2 separate regions of the Homo sapiens genome follow, and region 1 is linked to region 2. The links are contacts of gene promoters, found by promoter capture Hi-C in human tissues and cell types (Jung and others, 2019). All regions are on one chromosome and are shown on one strand. The core of a region is centred on a gene start or on the middle of the fragment in contact, and the rest is flanking DNA. Distances in the headings are between cores, read along the strand shown. Region 1 has its middle 11 kb from the start of PIP. Region 2 holds the start of OR6V1 (olfactory receptor family 6 subfamily V member 1).

Evidence for each region. The method cuts DNA at HindIII sites, captures the fragments that hold promoters and counts their contacts. A contact is called where the count stands out against the background at its distance.
Region 1: a contact is called between a fragment that was not itself captured here and the fragment with the promoter of OR6V1 in region 2, in 2 of the 25 tissues and cell types used here (H1 embryonic stem cells and heart right ventricle).

Annotation. Positions count from the first base shown.
Region 1 is chr7:143,118,388-143,124,438 of GRCh38, reverse strand. No RefSeq gene overlaps it. Among named protein-coding and RNA genes, the nearest start is that of PIP, 11 kb to the left of the region's middle. The HindIII fragment of the contact is 3,524 bases long and covers 2,815-6,051 here.
Region 2 is chr7:143,049,438-143,055,883 of GRCh38, reverse strand. OR6V1 (olfactory receptor family 6 subfamily V member 1) reads right to left here and starts at 3,543. Exons shown (of 1, transcript NM_001001667.1): 1 at 2,602-3,543. The coding sequence starts at 3,543. The coding sequence ends at 2,602. RefSeq lists an enhancer at 6,149-6,446. The HindIII fragment of the contact is 14,465 bases long and covers 1-6,446 here.

The DNA.
Region 1 (6,051 bases), core at 3,327-5,826, 68 kb before region 2:
AAAACCTAAGAAGTAAGCAATTTTTAAGTGTCAGTCACATACCAACGGTTTATGAATATGAATTTTTATAATATTTAGAAACATAGGCTTTCTAATGGAACATTCTTTAAAAATGTAGAACAGGGCCAGGCGCGGTGGCTCGTGCCTGTAATCCCAGCACTTTGGGAGGCTGAGGCAGGATGATCATGAGTTCAGGAAATCAAGACCCTCCTGGCTAACATGGTGAAACCCCGTCTCTACTAAAAATACAAAAAATTAGCCGGGCATTGTGGCGGACACCTGTAGTCCCAGCTACTCGGGATGCTGAGGCAGGAGAATGGCATGAACCCAGGAGGCAGAGCTTGCAGTGAGTCGAGATTGCACCACTGTACTCCAGCCTGGGCGACAGAGCTAGACTCCATCTCAAAAAAAAAAAAATGTTGTGGGAAGTCAGGGACTCCAAACAGAGGGACTGGCTGGAGCCACGGCAGAGGAACATAAACTGTGAAGATTTCATGGACATTTATCAGTTCCCAAAATTAATACTCTTAAAATTTCTTATGCCTGTCTTTACTTTAATCTCTTAATCCTGTTATCTTCATAAGCTGAGAATGTATGTCACCTCAGGACCGCTGTTGTACAAATTGATTGTAAAACATGTGTGTTTGAACAATATGAAATCAGTGCACCTTGAAAACGAACAGATAACAGTGATTTTAGGGAACAAGGGAAGACAACCAAAGATCTGACTGCCTGCAGGGTCGGGCAGAATAGAGCCATATTTTTCTTCTTGCAGAGAGCCTATAAATGGACGTGCGAGTAGGAGAGATATCGCTGAATTCTTTTCCCAGCAAGGAATATTAATAATTAATACAATGGGGAAGGAATGCATTCCTGGGGGAGGTCTATAAACGGCTGCTCTGGGAGTGTCTGTCTTATGTGGTTGGGATAAGGGCTGAAATACGCCCTGGTCTCCTGCAGTACCCTCAGGCTTATTAGGGTGGGGAAAAGATCCTGCCCTGGTAAATTTGAGGTCAGACTGTTTCTCTGCTCTTGATCCCTGTTTTTTGTTGTTTAAGATGTTTATCAAGACAATACGTGCACAGCCGAACGTAGACCCTCCTCAGTAATTCTTTTTTTTTTTTTTTTTTTGAGACATGGTCTCGCTCTGTCACCCAGGCTGGAGTGCAGTGGTGTGATCTTGGCTCACTGCAAGCTCCGCCTCCCGGGTTCACGCCATTCTCCTGCCTCAGCCTCCCGAGTAGCTGGGACTACAGGCGCCCACCACCATGCCTGGCTAATTTTTTTTGTATTTTTAGTAGAGACGGGGTTTCACTGTGTTAACCAGGATGGTCTTGATCTCCTGACCTCGTGATACACCTGCCTTGGCCTCCCAAAGTGGTAGGATTACAGGCGTGTGCCACCACACCCGGCCCAGTAATTCTAATTTTGCCCTTTGCCTTGTGATCTTTGCTTTGACCTTTGCCTTGTGATCTTTATTGCCCTTTAAAGCATGTGATCTTTGTGACCTACTCCCTGTTCATACACCCCCTCCCCTTTTAAAGTCCTTAATAAAAACCTGCTGGTTTTGTGGCTCAGGGGACATCATGGACCTACCGATATGTGAGGTCACCCCCAGAGGCCCAGCTGTAAAATTCCTCCTTTGTACTCTTTCTCTTTATTTCTCAGACTGGCCGACAGTTAGGGAAAATAGAAAGGACCTATGTTGAAATATTGGGGGCTGGTTCCCCCGATAAAAATGTAAAACAGGACATTTTTACTAAGAAATATAAATATCTTTTGTTTCTCTGAAATAAGAAGTCAAAAGTATTTAAGCTTCAACTCATAGTCATTAATGTCTTAGAATTGTATCTTATTTAGAGATAATTTAGATATTCAATGAATATCCATCCTTTAATTTAGCATAGCAAATTTTGAGGGTATAGTTAACAAAAAGATTTTAAAAACCTTTAAAAATGTTTGTATTAGTCAGGGTTCTCTAGAGGGACAGAACTAATAGGATACATGAGTTTATTAAGTATTAACTCACAGGATCACAAGGTCCCACAATAGGCCGTCTGGAAGCTGAGGAGCAAGGAAAGCCAGCCTGAGTCCCAAAACTGAAGAATATGGAGTCTGATGTTTGAGGGCAGGAAGGGTCCAGCTTGGGAGAAACATGTAGGCTGGGAGGCTAGGCCAGTGCAGTGTTTTGTTTTGTTTTCTTTTTTTTTGAGGTGGAGTCTCACTCTTGTCACCCAGGCTGGAGTGCAGTGGTGCGATCTCGGCTCACAGCAATCTCCACCTCCCGGGTTCAAGTGATTCTCCTGCCTCAGCCTCCTGAGTAGCTGGGATTACAGGTGCCTGCCACCACATCTGGCTAATTTTGGTATTTTTAGTAGAGACAAGGTTTCACCATGTTGGCTAGGCTGGTCTCGAACTCCTGACCTCAGGTGTTCCACCTGCCTTGACCTCCCAAAGTGCTGGGGTTACAGGCGTGAACCACTGCACCTGGTCCCAGTCTTGTCATTTTACGTTTTCCTGTCTGCTTTATATTCTAGCAGCTGATTTTGATGGTGCTCACCCAGATTAAGGGTGGGTCTGCCTTTCCCAGCCCACTGACTCAAATGTTAGTCTCCTTTGGCAACACCCTCAAAGACACACCCAGGATCAATAATTTGCATTTTTCAGTCCTATCAAGTTGACACTCAGAATTAACCATCACAACCTTTTTAAGTAAGCATATTATAAAACTTAATAGGTATTAATAGTTCATTTATGAACTCATCCCATTTACATCTATTTAATTTATTCACTCTTAACAATTATGTTTGGAAAAGTTTATAAGACATAGGACACATTTGGCCATCATCTCAAGTTAAATTTTCTATTAACTATTTTTATATTACTATATGTTAGGCAAGTATCCTAAAGGCAAGAAACTTAAAGGTTCATTTGGGCCTTTTTAAAAGTCAGTTTTGTCACTTGTATACTATATACAAACACAAACATTTACACAAGTATAAAAATACAGACAAAGATTTTATAGTTTTGATTTGTGAAAGGAAAATAAATCTTGGCACCACAAAATCACTAAGCCAAAGGGAAAAGGCAAGCCGGGGACTGCTTAGGGCAAACCTGCCTCCCATTTTATTATCCCTAAATAAGATAGCTACAGAGATAAGAAGCCACATACCTCCCTCACAATTTTCCCACAAGGAAATTCTTTGTGGACAAAGAACAGACAGAACTCAAAATTGTCCCTCTGAGGCTTGCCTGAGACAGATGCATATCTAATTACTTCCTCTGACCTATTGTTTATGTAAAAATGCAGATTCACTGAGACAGATTAAATTGTGTATTCAGTGGAAGACTGATCAAGTACTTAAAATAATGCAGCCTTTTGTCTTTTATCTACTTCTAACATGGAAACCCCCACTTTGAGTTGTCCTGCCTTACTGGAACGAACCAATGTACATTTTACACATTTGATTGATGCCTCATATCTCCCTAAAATAAAGCAAGCTGTACCCTGACCACCTTGGGCACATGTTGTCAGGATGTCCTGAGGCTGTGTCATGGGTGCTTTCTTAGCTTTGGCAAAACAAACTTTCTAATTTGACTGAGACCTGTCTCAGTTATTTAGGGTTCACAGATTTTAATATTTTACCCATGAGTCAGGCAAAACTCAGTAGTTTAAAAAGACAGTTGGAATCAAACTGTGGCTTTGTAAATGGAACGAGTTAAAGTTTATCTGTCTCACAGGCTGAAGCCCTTACTGATTTACAAAACAAGGTAGGAAATTTATGTTTCATAGTACAGAGAAAGAGTTTAAGCTTTCAAAAGGCCAGTGAAGTTTTACATCATTCTTGGCACAAATCATGTCAACAAAACAGAAGCAAACTAAGGGAGTGCATACAGTTAGTAAGGTATAAAAAAGAAATAAAATTCTAAGCCCCCTAACTGACTGATGGGCCCTCCCCTCTGCCAAGGACATTCCAAAGTTAATCTGAAAAATTAGTTCAGGCCATGATGGGAAGTGGGGTGCCACTGGACATGCCTCGCAGCTGACCAGTGTTAACATCAACACAAAGACCTTAAGACTAATAGAGCAGGCTGGATGTGGTGGCTCGCTCCTGTAATCCCAGCACTTTGGAAGGCAGAGGCAGGTGGATCACATGAAGTCAGGAGCATGGCCAACATGGTGAAACCCTGTCTCTACTAAAAATACAAAAATTAGCTGGGTATGGTGGCCCATGCCTGTAGTCCCAGCTACTTAGGAAGCTGAGGCAGGAGAATCACTTGAACTCAGGAGGTGGAGGTTCCAGTGAGCTGAGATTGCGCCACTGCACTCTAGCCTGGACAACAGAGTGAGACTCTGTCAAAAAAAATACTAATAGAATCTTTAAGTCTGATAGGAAACGTTTACAATCTATTCTCTCTGAGGCCCGCTACCTGGAGGCTTCATCAGTGTGATAAAACCTTGGTCTCTAAAATCCCTTATCTTAACACAGAAATTTCTTTGTATTGATTTCAGGTCTTTAGACAATAACTCTTTCAACCAATTGCCAATCAGAAAATCTTAGAATCTGCCTATGATCTGGGGCCCCCACTTCCTATTGTCCCATTTTTCTGGATTAAACCAATATACATCTTACATTAATTGATTGACGTCTTATGTCTCCCTAAAATATATAAAACCAAGTTGTAGTTCAACCACTTTGGGCACATGTTCTCAGGATCTCCTGAGAGCTGTGTCATGGGTCATTGGTCATTCTTATTGGGCTCAGAATAAATCTCTTCAAATATTTTACTGTTTTTCTTGACAAAAGGGTTAAGAAGAAAGAAATTTAGTCAACTGACAAGTTTTTATAGAGAACAGAGGCCCAATTAAAAAGTATATATGCATATGTATCTTAAATATCAGCTTTTAATTAAATCGACTTTTGACTATAGAGATCTTAAAAAAAAAACTTCAAGTCTCTTATCATATTTCAGCCAGAACAGTCAATATTCCTGCTTTTGTACCATTTCCCCCCTCTTTTAAACCAAAGGTATCTTTGCAAGTGACTCACCAAAACCAATAAGCTTTAACCAATGTTATGATGTAATCAATACATTGATCAACGAGCCTTCTCCAAAGAGATGCAGGACAGTTCTCACAAGATTCCAGATTCATGCCAAAGAAAGTTCAAAGAGAGAAAAGTTTTGCTAGCTACAAATGGGTGTACAACCCATATCACTCTGGCCATATTCTCTAGGGTCTCAGCTTCTCAGTTGACTGGCTACACAGAGAGTTCAGATGAAAAATTTAAAGAGATATTTAATGAAGCAGGAAGACAAAATCTGCCCATAGGGGTAGTGCCAAAAGGTGGGCAAATATAGGAAGGCAAATTTATAGAGGTAAAGTCTGCTCACAGATTCCCCTGGCCCATTAGTGGGCTAATAAGCAGCTGTCTCCAGTAAGGGAGGATTTATGTCCTCGCTTTAGGCAAACAAAAGAAGGGCAGAGAATCTCCCTGCCTTTTAGCTGTGTTTAGCTCAACAATCCTAAGTGTTTTAGAGGGTAATATTTTGGCTTCCTTCAGTAGAATGGATTACAAATGGGTGACCCAAAAGGTGTAGAGTCATACTAAAACCACCTTTGCAAAAATTGTATCAATGAGTAATATAACAGTAAGTTGAGCTAACTACCCCACTGCCCCATCTTGCTGTTTCCTTTATTCCTGGGCGATAGGGCTAAGCTAACTTTTTCTTTTTCTTTTTTTTTTTTTTGAGACAATGTCTTGCTCCATCACACAGGTTGGAGTGCAGTGGCACTATCTCAGCTCATTGCAACCTCTGTCTCCAGGGTTCAAGTTGTTTTCGTGCCTCAGTCACCCAAGTAGCTGGGATTACAGGAGTGCGCCACAATGCCTGGCTAATTTTTTTATTTTTAGTAGATTAGGTGTTTTCCCATGTTGGCCAGGCTGATCTCAAACTCCCGGCCTCAAGTGATCCACCCACCTCAGCCTCCCAAAGTGCTAGGATTACAGGCATGAACCACTGTGCCTCGCCCTAAGCTATAGTTTGGTG
Region 2 (6,446 bases), core at 2,294-4,793:
TGCTTCTATGCCTTTGATATTGAAACACAAATCTTTAAAAGTAACATTGAATCTATACTTGCTTTCTGCCAATATGTGTTTCTTTCAAGTGATGGATACTAAATGTGCAATTACTGTGAGGAAGGGGTTACTAGAATTGTTGCCATTACAAATCTACAAACTTGTAGAATCTTGATAGATATGTGCTCAGTAAGGGTCTAGAGGAGGCAAAACTGAGCAGCTTCAGATCCTGGAGGTTCCAACTTTGAATTAACCCAACTTTTAATTCAGATGGAAGAAGAAAATTCCAAAGATGGGGAGATGGAAAAAAAGGTTTGAAGAACCAGATCCTGCTGTCGGTTCTGCAATTTCTTTGACCAACTCATTCTTCCTCTCAGCCATGTTTCCCTTACCCGCTAAAGCGGGTCGGGAACACCGCTTGCTGCAGTTTCAGAATCAGAAATTTTCCTTCCGAGCTCTCATACTCTATAGGAAAACACCTTATTGAAATTAACCACACTTTTAAATTTCTCTCAGTACATGGAACCCCTTGAGGTCAGACTCCTCATTTCTTTCATCTTTAACAGCCACTGCTGAGTGGAGTGTTTTGCTCATGATGGGTGATCAGTGAATATTTATTTAACTGAATTACTATGAGGGTAAAACCAAATGGAAAATATATGTAAAAGTGGTTCATAAAGTATGAAAAGTATACAAAAGTAAGATATTGTTAGTAGAATTATTCTTAATTTACTCATCCTTCTTTCATTTACTCTACAAATACTTTTCTAGGTAGCAAGCAGAGAATAAACAGAGGAAAAAAACATCAATTCATTCAATAGCAACTGCAAACAACAGAATCATTGCTCTGTTATGTAATTAAAGAACAAGCAAAATTTTGGTCCAGAAACTGAAACTGGGAATGTGAAAAGACCCTCCGACTTGGCTAAGGGGTATCTCAGCAAGAAAGAAAGACACTTTCAGAAAGCCAGAGAAAGGGATGCCTCGTTTAGGAAGGAGTTAGCTTGGGGTAAGAGGAGGTCACAAGGAGAACCAATGGGTTGGTAAGCAAGCTGCATCTCTCAAGCTCCAAATGAGCTTACCTCATTCATTTCCACATAGTGGATTTTTTAAATGCTTGACATTTGTGATAAATTAGTAGTTTTATTGTTTTCAAGTAAGTGTAGCTACGAATAAACTCCTGGTTGTAGTTTATATATCACAAATTGGGATATGGAGTTTGGTAAATTAAAGTGTACTTACAGAAACAGTGTGTCAAAACAACTTAAATTGGGGCTACTTTAGAAAATTCTGCATGGGCAAAAGCTAAGGGAACACCATGATCCTGAGGTCAAAGTAACTGGAAGATTTTAAAAATTTCAGGCTATAGTTGGAGGAGGGAGGACAGTGGAGCTGATGTTTAACTCCAAAGGCAGCATGGGACATAATAGATTTTCAAGAATTTTATACCCACACGTATGTGAATGTAATATAATGTTCATATTTTATGTAATGTACAATATAATATGTATGTGTGTAAAATAGGATATATAATCACTGAATAAGTGAACTTACTAGGTTTATTACAATCCCTTGCCTTTAGGCAAATGAATGTTTCTAATCATACAGGAGCAAAGTTTATTTTGTCTTTCTAAAACTCTGAATATTTCCTCTCTGGAAACCACATAATTCCTCACTAGCGGAGATTTATCTTGTTTTAATTTCTCTCTGTTTCATCTTTCTCTGATGCAAAGGTACCTGATGAATTGCACTCTCACAGTGTCCACCTTATAGTCAATGTGCTACTCAGGTGTCATCTTGTCAGGAAGCCGTCGCTGAGCCTCCTCCTGGTCTCAGTGTTGCTCCCCTGTGTGCTCATAATACCGTCTGTGAATCCACTGTTGCACGTTCCCCACTGTGCTGGAAACAGCTATTTATCACTTTTTCCTTCCTTAGGCCAAGAGCTTTGTCAGGTTAAGAACCATTTATGCCTTTTTTACCTTTCTACCCTCTACCTGTTACAGTGCCTGACACACACAGCCTACTCAATGTTGAAGAAATGAATGAATAAATGGATGAATAATTATACAAGGACCCAGTCCTCCTCCCAACACTCACACACACATTGAAAAACAATCAGTTTGTTTTTGGTAAGTTTTGCTTCTTCTCTTGATCCCATGTAGCCCAAGCACTTATGGTGCATACACTCAGCAGCAGTGCATACTGTGATAGAGAAGCACACCCGGAACATGCACACGCATACACACATATGTACACACATACACACCCATGCACACATACTGGGATTGGACACTACCTCTTGATCATAGAGCACTTCTTGGCTGCTCTTCCTTAAATGCAAAGCACATGCACTTCCCTTTACTGAAAGCTCTGGGCTACTCTCAGAGTTCTTACGGCTGCCAGGGGATGTAGGGAACTCTTCCATGGTGGTCCATAAGAGCTTTGGGCCAGACAGTGCAGCACTCAGGGCTCACTGTAGTTATTGCTCAGAGGGAAAAAAACTAAAGAAACTCAGCAGTGTTCTTCCCACTTGCTGGAGGTCTCCCTCCCCACAGAACTGCTCAATGGAGGCAGGCCAGGTTCCCCTGGGCCCTGGGCTCATCATTGTGCCTTGCAAAGGCCTTTCAGCCTCTGCATCTGCCCCTGTAGCACTGTTTTAACTGTCTGATTGCAGAAGGTAAGGATAAAGGGATTGAGAAAGGGGGTGAGAACTGAAGTCACCAAGGCCACGACCTTCCTGACTTGCACAGAGTGAGCTTTGCCAGGCCTGACATACAGAAAGATGGTACTACTGTAGCCGATGAAGACCAGTGTGAGGTGAGACCCGCAAGTGGAGAAAGCCTTCTGGCAGCTGCTGGCAGAGGGGATCCGCAGCACAGTGGTCACTATGTAGCCATAGGAGATGAGGGTCACCAGGAAGGAGCTGAGGACAAAGGTCAAGGCCATCAGAAAGTCCCAGAATTCCAACAGGCGAGTGTCAGAGCATGACAACTGCAGGAGAGGTTCATTGTCACAGAAGAAGTGGTTGATGACGTCGCCATGGCAGTAATCAAGATGAGCTCGGGAGAGGACAGTGGGTACCATGGCTAGGAAAGGAGCTGCCCAGGCAGCCCCAGCCAGCTGGACACACATAGCCCGGCTCATCAGAGTGCCATAGCGCAGTGGGTGGCAGATGGCCACAAAGCGATCAAGGGCCATGTCTGTCAGGATGAGGAAGGAGGTGGACCCCAGGGAAAAGTGGAAGTAGAACTGGACCATGCAGCCAGTGAAGGTAATGACTTTGTGGGGGACCAACAGGTCTGAGAGCATCCTGGGCACTGCAGTCATGGTTACCAAGATCTCCAGCAGGGAAAAATTGCCCAGGAAGAAGTACATGGGTGTATGTAGGTGGGTGTCAGCTATGACCATAACTATGATGATGGTGTTTCCCATGAAGGCGAGAAGATAAAGCATGAGGAAGGGGCCATACAGAAGGGCCTGCAGCTCACCAAAGGAGGAGAAGCCCAAGAGGACAAATTCGGAGGGCTGGCTCAGATTTGCCATGATCCACAGTATGGGGCCCTGCATGCAAGAGAAACAAAAGACAGACGGAGAGGCAGAAACAGAGAGATAGAGACAGAGAACCATTGAACTTGAAACAGAAGAAACAGGGACAGAGACAGAGAATAGAGAGAGAAAGGCAAGTAGCCAGCGAGTGATAAACAGAAAAGCAGAAAGAAACGGCAATAAAGAAAGATAACAAAACAGGAATGGGAGAGTCAAGGAGAAACAGAGTGAGGGTATGAGAGAAGTGAAAGACATAGAAAGCCATTATTAAGAAGAGAGAAGGCTGGGGATGGTGGTTCATGCCTGTAATCCCAGCACTTTGGGAGGCCGAGGCAGGGGGAACACTTGAGGTCAGGAGTTCAAGACCAGCCTGGCCAACATGGTGAAACCCTGTCTCTACTAAAAATACAAAAATAAGCCAGGTGCAGGCAACTGTAATCTCAGCTACCTGCAAAACTGAGGCATGAGAATCGCTTGAACCTGGGAGGTGGAGGTTGCAGTGAGCCGAAATCGTGCCACTGCACTCCAGCCTGGGTGACAGAGTGAGACTCCATCTCAAAAAAGAAAAAAAAAAAGGGGGGGAAGAAAGAAAAACAGAGGAAAAGATTAAGGAAGACCACATGGCAACAGACATTGACATTTAGGGAGAAAACAAGAAGGAAACAACAGAGGACCAGAGAAAGAACAGAAAAAATTCAAATAGAGAAATACAGGAAGGGGAGGAACACAGAAAAAGAGAGGGAGAGAGAGCATTAGTGCATGTGACCCAGAAGCCCCCAAATGTAGGCTAATCCGTCTATGTCACACCCAGAGGTTGTGCCCCAAGACCCTTTTTAAAGGGTCCCTGCAAACCTTTCTGAGCTGCCTCTCTGAGGACCCTCGCTTGTGCACATTTCTCCGGCTATGATCATGAAATTAGTGAAAGTCAGAGTTTTGAGTCCAGAAATTAACTTCCTTTAGAGGAGACCTCTGCTTCGTGTTTGCAAAGATGGAGAGCAGAAAGGGTGCAGCAGGTCAGGGAGCGAGCCTGGAAATCCAAGTGGCTGCTCTCCCAGGACACACACAGTCATCAGGCTTCCCAACGGCATAATCTGTCTACCCAAGGGTGCTGCTTTGCCGTCTCCATTGCACTTCCCCTCCCGCCGTGGTGCAAAGTGTAAGCTATGGAGTTGGCTTGCCTGTGTTTGAATTCTGGCTCTAGACTTGCTTGTCACGGGCCGTAAATCTGCTCTTCTTTGTTACTTACTCTCTCTGAGCCCGTTTATTCAGCTGTAAAATAATGGTATTACTGGTACTTAGCCTCTATGGTGATTATAAAATTAAATAAGTAAACTACTTAGTGCAGTGACTAGCACATACTAGCCAACAAATCGTTGTTGTTATTGTTATCACTGTTCTTATTGTTAGACCGTCAATAGAACTCAAATTTTTTTTGCCCATCATCTCTCTACACTTCTTCTCATTGCCAGCATGTGTGTGTGTGAAGATCTTTACAGCTTTACACTGTTTCTTGGAATTTCAGTTCACTAAAAGGGTACTTTAAAACATTTCAAACACAAACAAAGTATTTACAACACAAACTGTCAGGAGTGGAAGGAGTGAAGCTGTGTGTAGATATACTCTGGCCCTTTCTCCAGCCCCATAAATGCTTCATTTGGGGTTGTGTCCTGGCCACACAGCAATGACATTCTAATTTTAAAAAGCCTTGCACCCGGCCAGGCGCGGTAGCTCACGCTTGTAATCCCAGCTGTTTGGCAGGCTGAGGTGGGCGGATCACGAGGTCAGGAGTTCAAGACCAGCCTGGCCAACACAGTGAAACCCCGTCTCTACTAAAAATACAAAAATTAGCTGGGCATGGTGGCGGGCACTTGTAATCCCAGCTACTTGGGAGGCTGAGGTAGGAGAATCACTTGAACCTGGGATGTGGGATTGCAGTGAGCTGAGATCATGCCAATACACTCCAGCCTGGATGACAAAGCTAGACTCCATCTCAAAAACAATAAAAAATAAATAAATAAATAAATAAATAAATAAATAAATAAATAAAGCCTTGCACCCATGCCACTGGCAAGCCTTAACGGTAGGTCTAAAATCCTAAAATCTACCCCAGCACTGACTAAATTCAAACCCAGTCCTTATGTTTGTGTTGCATGAGAACCTGACTGACATACAGACTTCCCCCCCTCACCTTAGCCTCCAAGCCTGTTGTCTTCTTTGTAAGCTGCTCTCACTTAGGCATTCATACCTGGAGACACCTGCCTACTGGCCTCACTCTATAACATGAATGACATCAGAGATGCAGTCTCTTTCCCTTGGGTTGTGTCTTGCGGCTGGAAAGGGTGGAAAGGGGCTTTGTGCACAGCTTGGAAGAGGTGGCACTGCTGGGTGAGCTAAAACTCTGCCAGTCCTTATGCTGATTTTCTAATTCAGCACCTACCCTGTGTCACTACAAAGCCAGGGGCAGCAGCATTGATGTGGGGCTGGGAGATGGGAAATAAGTCCCTCAGGAGACCAGAGGGGAAAGGTGCTGATTCTGTCCATTCTCTCTCAAGGATGAGTGTTTTCAGCTCTTTCTCTCATCCACATCTCCAAGTCCTTCGTGTCTTGATGATGTTTACAGTTCAGCTTATGCTGGATGGGAAACTTAGACTCCAGCAGAGTGTTTTCTGTGGGAATGACAGGAAGCCAAGGAGCCCTCTGGGGACTTCTGAGGCACTGACGTTGCTCCTTAGAATAATGAGATGTCCTCTGTTTTGAGGAAGTAACATTTGAGAAAAAGATCTGAATAAAGAAATGGATAAAGACCCAGATACACCCAAGCAGCTGACGGCTTAGGATCAGCACCTCGGCAGTGCCTGTCTCCTGGCCCTTCCCCTCCTCCCAGGACCATGGAAAAAATA